Regions from separate parts of the Homo sapiens genome. Here regions 2 and 3 are each linked to region 1. Evidence: promoter capture Hi-C in human tissues and cell types (Jung and others, 2019). All regions are on one chromosome and are shown on one strand. The core of a region is centred on a gene start or on the middle of the fragment in contact, and the rest is flanking DNA. Distances in the headings are between cores, read along the strand shown. Region 1 holds the start of ATP12A (ATPase H+/K+ transporting non-gastric alpha2 subunit). Region 2 overlaps LOC105370117 (a long non-coding RNA gene). Region 3 overlaps RNF17 (ring finger protein 17).

The links. The method cuts DNA at HindIII sites, captures the fragments that hold promoters and counts their contacts. A contact is called where the count stands out against the background at its distance.
Region 2: a contact is called between a fragment that was not itself captured here and the fragment with the promoter of ATP12A in region 1, in 1 of the 25 tissues and cell types used here (dorsolateral prefrontal cortex).
Region 3: a fragment that was not itself captured here is called in contact with the fragment with the promoter of ATP12A in region 1 in 1 of the 25 tissues and cell types used here (dorsolateral prefrontal cortex).

Annotation. Positions count from the first base shown.
Region 1 is chr13:24,678,695-24,682,382 of GRCh38, forward strand. It overlaps ATP12A (ATPase H+/K+ transporting non-gastric alpha2 subunit), which reads left to right and starts at 1,714. Exons shown (of 23, transcript NM_001676.7): 1 at 1,714-2,058; 2 at 2,868-3,026. The coding sequence starts at 2,050. RefSeq lists a silencer at 1,762-2,071 and an enhancer at 3,265-3,688. The HindIII fragment of the contact is 3,620 bases long and covers 875-3,688 here.
Region 2 is chr13:24,517,499-24,521,056 of GRCh38, forward strand. It overlaps LOC105370117 (a long non-coding RNA gene), which reads left to right. Exons shown (of 3, transcript XR_941756.2): 2 at 249-545. Among named protein-coding and RNA genes, the nearest start is that of PARP4, 6.5 kb to the left of the region's middle. The HindIII fragment of the contact is 3,259 bases long and covers 233-3,491 here.
Region 3 is chr13:24,875,997-24,879,499 of GRCh38, forward strand. RNF17 (ring finger protein 17) reads left to right here. Exons shown (of 36, transcript NM_031277.3): 34 at 1,001-1,190; 35 at 3,191-3,299. The coding sequence ends at 3,289. Among named protein-coding and RNA genes, the nearest start is that of CPAP, 45 kb to the right of the region's middle. The HindIII fragment of the contact is 6,934 bases long and covers 1-3,503 here.

The sequences.
Region 1 (3,688 bases), core at 464-2,963:
GCATCTGAAAGGAACAGGAAGTTATAATTAATTCCTAATTAGAATTGGGCACAAGCTTTTTTTTCTTATTTTTTTTTTAATTTTTTTATTGTGACAGAGTCTCGCTCTGTCGCCCAGGCTGGAGTGCAGTGGCGCGATCTCCACTCACTGAAAGCTCCACCGTCTCCCGGGTTCATGCCATTCTCCTGCCTCAGCCTCCCGAGCAGCTGGGACTACAGGCGCCCACCACCATGCCCGGCTAATTGTTTTGTATTTTTAGTAGAGATGGGGTTTCACCGTGTTAGCCAGGATGGTCTCGATCTCCTGACTTCGTGATCCGCCCGCCTCGGCCTCCCAAAGCGTTGGGATTACAGGCGTGAGCCACCGCGCCCGGCCGGGCACAAGCTTATTGTTTTTCTTCTACCTTTTCTAAATGTACCCAATGCTCTTCATGTTTTCTGCCAGATGTTCTAGTCACTGCATGATGGGATTGTTACTTTTGCTGCTTCTCTGGACTCCTCACTCTTAGTCATTTTAAATATGGTCAAAATGACAATCTTTCTTACCATATTTGATATATAACTTTCAAAAAGAATAAAACTTAGCACCCTCCTATTAGTCCTTATCTAAATGGAAACTTATTAGCAGAGCATCAAGGGCCCAATAAAGTGCCCCCTCTTTTGAAACTTATCTCTACTCCCTTTCATATATTTCAATCATGTCAATTTCTTATTGTTCTTCTAAATAGGTGCTGATTACTAAACTCTATTCGTGGGTTTTATTTTTTATGTTCCTCTCCATTAATTAATATTCTTCACTGACTTTAAGACTTCACGATTCATTCTTTTAAAAGAACGTGTTTGATTTCCTCCACTGTTAACTGCTAAATATCTCTCTGATATATTGTTTTCAGGCTATCTTTCTCATCTGGAGTAATTATGTTTCAAGTGTCAGGGGGAAAATACCTTTTCTATCCTGTGCAAAAACTCATGCTGGGCACTAAGAGCATGGAGCATGTCCCAGTTATCTATTGCTGCATAACAAACCAACCCAAACTTAGCAGTATAAAACAACCACTGCTTTAGTATGCACATCAACTTTCAGGGTCAGAAATTCTTTTCTCCTTCATGTATAGAGTCTCAGCTGGGAGTGACATAAATAGGTGGAGACAGACCTCTCCAGCCCAGTCCAGCCAACAGCCTCCGCTCCTGCGCACCCGCAGCCTGGGGCCCCAGGTTCCTGTGGTCTCACCGACCCTAATCCTCTCATCTCTCCTCCCCATTCCCTCTCCAAATTGTTTCAGAATTCCAAATTCTTATCTGGATCCGGCAAATTAATTCAGCTACTCTTCAGAGTCTCTCAGTTATTCCCAAATTCTCTCGGAAGCTTGAATTTACCTATCTAAATCCATTCTCAAAAACACATTGGCCTTTTCTAGCCGGGACATCTCCAACAGTAGTTGCTGTTAGAAACTGCAATTTCCCCTTCTCTGCATACACATTTTTATAAATTGATTTATTGGTAGGCAAATTACATTTTTAAAAAAAGGCATGTGTGGGTTTTCAGGGAAGCCTGGACAGGACGTGGGCGTGCCGGGAGCTCGCCGGAGCAGCTGGTCCGGCTCTGGGCGCCCAGCGGAACCAGGGCTGTACTCACCTGGATGCCGGACCCGCCCCCTAGAGACCCCGCCCCCTGGCGTTCGGCTACTAAAGGGAAGGGGATTCCCAGGGGGTCCTCAATCCTGGACTCTCCCGACCCCTAGCTGTCGGTCCCCCTCCCTGCGCGCGCGCCGGCGGGTTTCCTACCCTCCGAGGCGTCCGCTGGCCTGCGCCCTGGCGGGGACGTGGGCGGGGCGGGCGGCATTTAAGGCTGGTGCCACCTCCCCGGTGCAGCGGCTGGCGATCGGCCGCGGAGGTGCGTGCAGGGCCCGCGCCGCCGCCGGTATCTCCACCGCCAACACCTCAGCCACTGCCACTGCCACAGCCACACGAGGCCCCCCACCGTGCGCTCCGCCGCTGCGGTCCCGGATCCGCGCTCCACGCCCGCAGCCCGCGGCGCCACCAGCCCAGCATGCACCAGGTGCGTGCAGCCCCCGCGCCGGCCGAGGATGCGAGACGCTGGGCCAAGGCCCCGGGGACCGGAGCAGGCTGACGGGAAGCGAGGAAAAGGCGAAGAGGAGAAACGCCCCGTCCCGGGGCAAGGGGAGGCCGCCTTTCCTCTGAGCGCCCCCCGGCCTGGGCACCGCTTCTCTGACTCCCCGCCACGGCTCCGTGCGGCCGCCGGGGCTGGCTGGGGAAAGAAGCCAGTCCAGAGGAGCGAGAAGGGGCCAAGGGGTCCTAGGCCAGCTCCATGGCACCTGCGGGCTCCGACTCGGAGGATGGGGTGACATGGATTCGTTGCGGTCTGAAAAGACTTCCGGTTAGGGCCCCCTGATCAGGACTGAGGGTCGTAAGCTTAGTGGGTGCCTCCTCCCCAAGAAACAGGACGCACAGCTGTTGTGTCCCCTGGGAAGGACACCTCAGAGGAAACCTCGAGGTGCCTAAGGAACCTCGAGGTTCTAAGGAAACCTCACAGCTCCTTGGAGGCATCAGTCAGGAGTTGGGGGGGTAACTTCCCACCTGCTCCACCCAGAGAAGGGTCACCCTGAGGAGCTGCTGGCTGGCCTGTGCCCACCCCGCCTCCCCTCTACACGGACGGAGAGGAAGCCAAGGTCGGCGGGAGGTGGGGGAGAGACTCCACTGTCCGACTCCCTCCGGCCTCCCCAGAGGAGGGAAGGAAAGGGAGAAGGGGCTCCTGACTCCTGCAGGTCCTGACCCCGCAGAGGGGCGCTCAGCACCTCTTCGGAAACCCCATTTGGGGCCAATATTGCACCTGGGCTTCTCTTTCAGAAAACCCCAGAAATTTACTCCGTGGAGCTCAGCGGAACTAAGGACATCGTGAAAACAGACAAGGGGGATGGCAAGGAGAAGTATAGGGGTCTGAAGAACAACTGCCTGGAACTCAAAAAGAAAAATCACAAAGAGGAGTTTCAGAAAGAACTCCATCTGGTCAGTAGCCTTAAGCCACGGGGTCCTGCCGGCTATGGCCCTTCCCCGCAAGAGCTTGCCCCTAGAACCCACCTCTTACCACAGACATTCAGTCTGAGGGATTTGAAATCCCCTTGAGATTGTGTGTGGTGTGTGGTGTCTGCGTGGTGTGTCTGTGTGGTGTGTGTGTGTGGTGTATGTGTGGTGTGTGTGTATGTGTGGTGTGTCTGTGTAGTGTGTGGTGTGTGTGTGTATGTGTGGTGTGTGGTGTATGGTGTGTGGTGTGTGTGTATGGTGTGTGGTGTGTGTATATGGTGTGTGTAGTGTGTGGTGTGTGTATGTGTGTGGTGTGTGTGTATGGTGTGTGTGTATGGTGTGTGTATGTGTGGTGTGTGTGATGTGTGTGTGATGTGTGTGTGGTGTGTGTGTGTGGTGTGTATATGTGTGTGGTGTGTGTGTGGTGTGTGTATGTGTGTGGTGTGTGTATGTGTGTGGTATATATGTGTGTGGTGTGTGTGGTGTGTGTATGTGCATGGTATGTGTGGTGTGTGTGTAGCGTGTGGTGTGTGTGTAGTGTGTGGTGTGTATGTGTGGTGTGTGTATGTGCATGGTATGTGTGGTGTGTGTGTAGCGTGTGGTGTGTGTGTAGTGTGTGGTGTATATGTGTGGTGTGTGGTGTGTGT
Region 2 (3,558 bases), core at 612-3,111, 160 kb before region 1:
GTGAGCTGAGATTGCACCACTGCACTCCAGCCTCGGCGACAGCAAGACTCTGTCTTAAAAAGATAAATAAATGAATAAATAAAGAAATAAATAAATATTTCATGATTTTGTTAAACATCACTTCCTAATAAAGGGAAAAAATACTTTTGTCACTGTGGAGAAGCCTTTGTGGGGTGGAGTCACTACTGGGGATAAAAGAGAAAATGTTGAAGGAAGTCATCAGCTTTGTTGCTTTTCTTAATTGCAAGGTTTGAGTTTCCTGCCTGATGATCAGAGCCAGAAGCACAGGTCTCCAGGAAATGCCACCACTGGATAGAGAGCCACACGCTGCTTCCTATCATACGTCTACCTGGACCTAACTCAGGAAGAAACATACACTTCCTACATTTTATCCCATAAGCAAAGCAACTTCTGTAGAACTGCCCATGGAGATTTTGTCTTAACTTCAAAAAGTGCTTCTCCTAATTTATTTTCTGTTGCACGGTATCAAGAAGCACCTGTGGAAAAAAAGGATTCAAAAGAAGAAAACCATAACCATCTTACAAGTGAGTTAATTGTGTTCCTCTCTTCTGTACTTAACTCACAGTGTTACTAAGTTGTCCTAAGATAAGAGAAGGCCTTTCTGTGTTTTTTGTTTAAAATTCTTTTTTCAGAGATGGAGTCTTGCTGTGTTGCTCAGGCTGGACTCAAACTCCTGGGCATAAGCAGTCCTCCCCCTTCAGCCTCCCAAGTAGCTGGACTATAGGCATGTGCTTCCCTGCCAGCTCTTGCTCTCATGCTCTCTCTCTGTGTGTGTGTGTGTGTGTGTGTGTGTGTGTGTGTGTGTTTGTCCCCTGTGGCTTTGTTTTTTTTTTTTTTTGGAGACAGAGTTTTGCTCTTTGGCCCAGCCTGGAGTGTAGACGCATGATTTCAGATCACTGCAACCTCTGCCTCCAGGGTTCAGGTGATTTCTTGTGTCTCAGCCTCCCAAGTAGCTGGGATTACAGGTGTGCGCCATTATGCCCAGATAATTTTTTGTATTTTTAGTAGAGATGGGGTTTTATCATGTTGGCCAGGCTGGTCTCGAACTCCTGGCCTCAAGTGATCTGCCACCTTGGCCTCCCAAAGTGCTGGGATTACAGATCTGAGCTACTGCACCCAGCCATAATTTGTCATTGATCACTTTTCAAAAACACGTTTTATCATGCTATTTTCTGTAACTGAACTCAACATGTTTCTACGTTGGTCACTTTTTAGAGACCCATTTTCTTTTTTCTTACTTTTCTATTACACTTTACGTTCTAGGGTACATGTGCACAACGTGCAGGTTTGATACATAGGTATACATGTGCCATGTTTGTTTGCTGCGCCCATCAACTCATTATTTGTTGGGGTGATCAGGCCCAATCCCAGACTGTGGGGGCTACGAAGTCCAGCGGAGTCAAATGAATAAGACAAGATAAGTTAACGGTGCATAAAGTGGGTCCAGGGGGCTGACACTAGTATGGAGGCTGTGAAGGCCCCGAGCTCTGGGAGCCCACACTATTTATTGGTGATCAAACAAAGAAGCAGGCGGTGAGGACATGGGGGTCGAAAGAAAGTGATGCATCAAGTGTTTGATCTATAGCTGTGTCAGTTTAGCATTTTCTTTGAAGCATATGGAACGAGTTCAGTTACAGAAAATAGCACATCATCTAATTTTTTAGCAAAAAGCTAGCATTTACTTTTTAGGGCAAGGTATTTGCATTTTCTGTGTGGGCCTAATATGCTCAAAACTGAGTTTTTTGATATTTGACAGGACGTGTTTTTTTAAACTGCTCTTAGTTAATACATTACTAAATTCAGTGAAAGAAAACAGCACATGTATTATTTGTGTGCTATATCTTGCTTTTAGCATTTAGGGATGTATATGCATATCTTCCTGAAAGTACAAAGTGGGCTCAGAAATGCTTTTTTTAAAGTTGTCTGAAACATTGTTTAAAAAAAGGATCAATATCTAAACATGTTCTGTTCAGTGAAAGAAAGCAGCACATCATCTAGATTTTTGGCACACAGCTTTCATTTACTTTTCAGAGCTAGATATTTGCATTTTCTGTGTGGGCCTACTATGCTCAGAATTGTGTTGTTTGAGATTTGACAAGTTGTGTATTTGAAAACTGCTATTAGTTAATACACGTTGAATTTAGTGAAAAAAAAAAAAACAGTGTATTAGACATTATTTGTGTGCCATATCTTGCTTTTAGCATTTAGGACTGTATTTTCATATCTTCCTGAAAGTTCTAACTAGGCTTTTATTAGTTTTTTTCTGAGTGTGTACAAACGTGTTTTTAAAAATGAATCAATGTCAAAACATGTTGAATTTGGAGAAAAAAACAGCACATCAGGTAGGTTTTTGGTACATAGCTTGCATTTACCTTTTAGGGCCTACTATGCTCAGAATTGTTTTTTCTGAGATTTGACAAGCTGCGTCTTTGAGAACTGCTATACCATGTAGAATTAAGTGAAGGAAACCAGAACATCATCTAGGTTTTTGGCACACCGCTTGTGTTTACCCTTTATGATTAGATATTTGCATTTTCTTTGTTGGCCTACTAAGCTTGAGGTTGTGTTTTCTGAGCTCTGTTTTCTAGATGTGTTTTTGATAATTGTGTTTTCTGAGATGTGTTTTTGAAAACTGCTCTCAGTTAACACATGTTGAATTCAGCAAAAGAAAACTGCACATAACTTATATTTTGGGTGCCATGTCTTGCTTTTAGCATTTGTAGCTGTACATGCATATCTTCCCAGAAGCGCTAACTGGGCTCTGAAATGGTATTTGAGCTTGTACAAAATGTGTTTTTGAAAAGTGATCATGTAAAAGCATCTTAAATTTATTGACAGAAAGCAGCACATCATTTAGGTTTATGGCACAAAGCTGGTGTTTACCTTTTAGAGCTAGATATTCGCATTTTCAATGTGGGCCTACTATGCTCAGAATTAGGTTTTCTGAGATTTGACAAGATGATCTTTGAAAAATGTTCTTAGTTAATACATGTTGAATTCAGTGAACAAAATAGCAGATCATACATATTTTGTGTGCCATATCTTGCTGTTAGCATTTAGGACTGTGTATGCATACATTCCTGGAAGTGCTAACTGTGCTTGGAAATGTTGCTTTTGGAGCTTGTAGAAAACGTGTGTTTAAAAAGTGTTCAATGTCAAGACATGTGGAACTCCGTGAAAAAAACAGCATATAATATATAGGTTTTTGGCAGAAAGCTTGTGTTTACCTCTGACGGCTAGATATTCACATTTTTTGTGTAAGACTACTGTGCTCAGAATTGTTTTCTGACTTGAAAACATGTGTTTCTGAAAACTGCTCTTAGTTAATAAACATTGAATTCAGTGAAACAAAACAGCACATCATCTAGGTTTTTGGCACAAATTAGTGATCACTTTCAGGGCTAGATATTTGCATTCTCCTTTTGGGTTTACTATGCACAGAATTGTGGTTTTTGAGATTTTACAAGATGTGTCTTTGAAAAGTGCTTTTAGTTAATACATGTTGAATTAGTGAAGCAAAACAGCACATCATACATT
Region 3 (3,503 bases), core at 493-2,992, 200 kb after region 1:
ATCATTAGGCATCCACTTTACAGTTCTGATTTGGCCCTTTCTAACTTGTTTTTTGTTTCCTAATCTTACAAAGTATTTAAAGGGCGCCCATTTTTGTCCAGTTAATAATGTAAGAAAGATCACATTGACATGGTTATATTCCCAGGACCCTCAGTTCTTAAGGGATGGAATAAAGGGTTGTTACCATAGCTTACAAATGTGTCATGATCTTGATGGAACTTATGTTGAGAAATAAAGTTTACATTTTTTATTTTCATCTTAATTTCATTTTTCCATGAACTTTTTGAAGCCCCCTCATACAGTATATACTACATCTTATTTATCCCTTCCCTGGAAGGTGGAACTTGGGTTGCTCCCCGCTTTTGGGTCTTGTGAATAATGCTTCTGCGAACACGGGTATACATTTATCTCTTTGAGTACCTTCTTTCAATTATTTTGGGTATATACCCAGAAATGGAACTGCTGGATCATATGGTCTATGCTTAATTTTTGAGGAACCTCCATGCTGTTTCCCATAGTGGCTGCGCCATTTTACATTCTCACTAAGAGTGCGCAAAGGTTCCAATTCCTGCATATCCTCACCAGCACTTGTAATTTTGTTGTGTTATAATAGCCATTCTAGTAGGTGTGAGGTGGAGTCTCACTTTGGATTTGACTTGCATTTCCCTAATGATTAGTGACGTGGAACATCCTGTCATGTGCTTGTTGGTCATTTGTAGATCTTTAGAGTAATGTCCGTGTTTATGTGTATTTTCTCCCATTCTGTAGGTTGCCTTTTTGTTCCGTTGTGTCCTTTGATACACAGAAGTTAATTTTTTTAGGAAGTCCATTTTATCTGATTTTTCTCATTTTATCTGATTTTTCTCATGCTTTTGGTGTCGTATCCAAAAAAATCACTGCAAAATCCAATGTTATGAAGCGTTTCCCCTATGTTTTCTTCTAAGAATTGGATAGTTTCAGCCGGAAGAGAATTTTAATGTAAGAATTTCTTTTGTGACAGACTGTGCCAAATTCCTTCTCATCTTATGCGGTATCCAGCTCGAGCCATAAAGGTTCTCTTGGCAGGGTTTAAACCTCCCTTAAGGGATCTAGGGGAGACAAGAATACCATATTGTCCCAAATGGAGCATGGAGGCACTGTGGGCTATGATAGACTGTCTTCAAGGAAAACAACTCTATGCTGTGTCCATGGTAAGTGTCTCAAGTAGCCAAAATTATTGTAAAGCTATTTCTGTGTCGATACTTTGTAAAGTGTTTGTTTCTATGCAGCGTCTACATGCGAGAGTATACTAAAGCATATACAGCTATATAGGATATAGTTTATATGTATAGCTTTATATATACATATAAAGCTTAATTTTGAGGCTTGTTAAAATGTCTTAGTTTATATTTAACAAACTGCTTACCCCTGTGGTGATATAAAATATCATTTATGTAATTAATAAAATGCTCAAGATGAGTATCCCATAATTAACTTATAATGGGGAAACAAATATGCAAACAAGTATGAGGTTGAATGAAATAAGTACTATAACAGAGCTATAGCTAACTTTGTGGGTGGGGGAAGCGTAAGAAGAAATGATTATTTGCATCTGGAGAGGACAGGAAAGGGTGTTTGAGCTGCTACTTAGAAGCCACTCAAGTATTTAATTGAATAAGTAAAACAGGAATGTGGCATTTCACCTGCATCCTAAAAGAAGAGTGGGAAAGAAAGAATGGTAGTTCTGCTCATTATAGAAAGGCTTGAATTATGCTAATTGTACTAATCTCATAATTGTACTACTTATTTGATGTAGTAGAACCTGTGTCAAAAGGTCAACTAAAAAACTCCAGACTGCATTTAATGTAAATGTTTTCTTCTTAGGCTCAGCATGTCACAGTAGCCCACAGGCAGAATCTGGCCTGTACCTTGTTTTATTTAGCACACAGTGTTTTAAAGTTGGAAATTTTACCCAAAAAGTCTGTATTTCTGGCCCTGATTAGATATTCTAAAAACTAGGAATCCTGGGTCTCCCCATCCCTCTGAAATGGCAGTCAGCTGAAAGTGTAGCCACAGCCCCTTAGATAGGAACATGTGATGTTCAGTTCACCTAGTCCTCACTGCTGGTGTGCAGCTCAGCCTGCTTCCCTCCTTTGTGATTCCTGCCTGGTGCCATGATTTGGGGATTCCTGACACACTGGCTATGACAAAAATGAGCTCATAATCAGTCAGCATGGTTCCTGGAAAGTGCTTTTTGAAAACCTGTGTATATATGCTATTGCATGTGCAGAGTGGTATGAATAGCTCATACAGGGTTTCTCTCAACCCAGTGAAAAAAGGGCAAGTATTTCTTATAGATAGGTATTTTTTCACTTCTCTAATATTCAGAATTTTGTCAGTATATAAGGATAAGCAGAACCATAGGATATATGAGAGGATTTATTACGGGAATTGGCTCACACAGTCAAAGGTGAAGTCCTATGATAGCTGTCTGCAAGCTGGAGAACCAGAGAAGCTGGTAGCGTGGCTCAGTCTGGAGGCCTCAGAACTAGGGAAGCTGACAATGCAGCTGCTAGTCCAAGGCCAAAGAGCCCCTGGGAGGTCACTGGTGCAAGTTCTACAGTCCAAAAACCAAAGAATCTGGAGGCTGATGTCTGAGGGCAAGAGGAGAAAAGGTGTCCCCCACTTAGGAAGGAAAGGAGAGCAGAGAACCCCCTTTCTGCCTGTCTCCCAGCCAGCTGGATGTCCCCTGCCCACATAGAGAGTGGGTCTTCCTCTCTGTCCACTGATTTAGCATCAGTCTCCTCTGAAAACACCCTCACAGACACACCTAGAAATGCTTCACCAGCCATTGAGGCATCCCTCAATCCAGCCAAGTTAACAACTAATATTAACCATCACAGTCAGTTTATGCATAAAGGTATAATGCTTTGTGTGGAATGCAAATGAACTGTAACAAGGGATGGTGGTGACAAAGCCCACTGGCTTCATTTAGGAAGACCTTGTGAGAAGGAATTTAAAGAGAGCAGAAGAATGGAAAGAATGGGATTTTGCAGGAAACCACTACAGATGCCTTTTGGAAGCATAGAGCATAAATTATCAATAGGCCCCTGAGAACACCTTTTCACACCCGTGTGAATGGCCAGATATGAGAGGGAAAAGGCAGCAAAGACATTACTGTTTTCTTGACAACTGTATCTTTTAATTTTAGGCTCCAGCACCAGAACAGATAGTGACATTATATGACGATGAACAGCATCCAGTTCATATGCCGTTGGTAGAAATGGGGCTTGCAGATAAAGATGAATAAGTGCCTAAGTGTAAGTTCTCATTCTCTTCATAGCATAAGGCATGGGACTAGTGGAGATGAATGCTAGATTGATCAGAAAAGCACCCGTGGATTTTCCTTGATTTCTCAAAGGAATGACAGCAACGCTCCACCAGATTTCTTCATAGGCCCTTCTCACCTATTCAGCACTAGTATCAAAGAGGTCCCCTATCTGTAAGGATGCCTGGATGGGCTG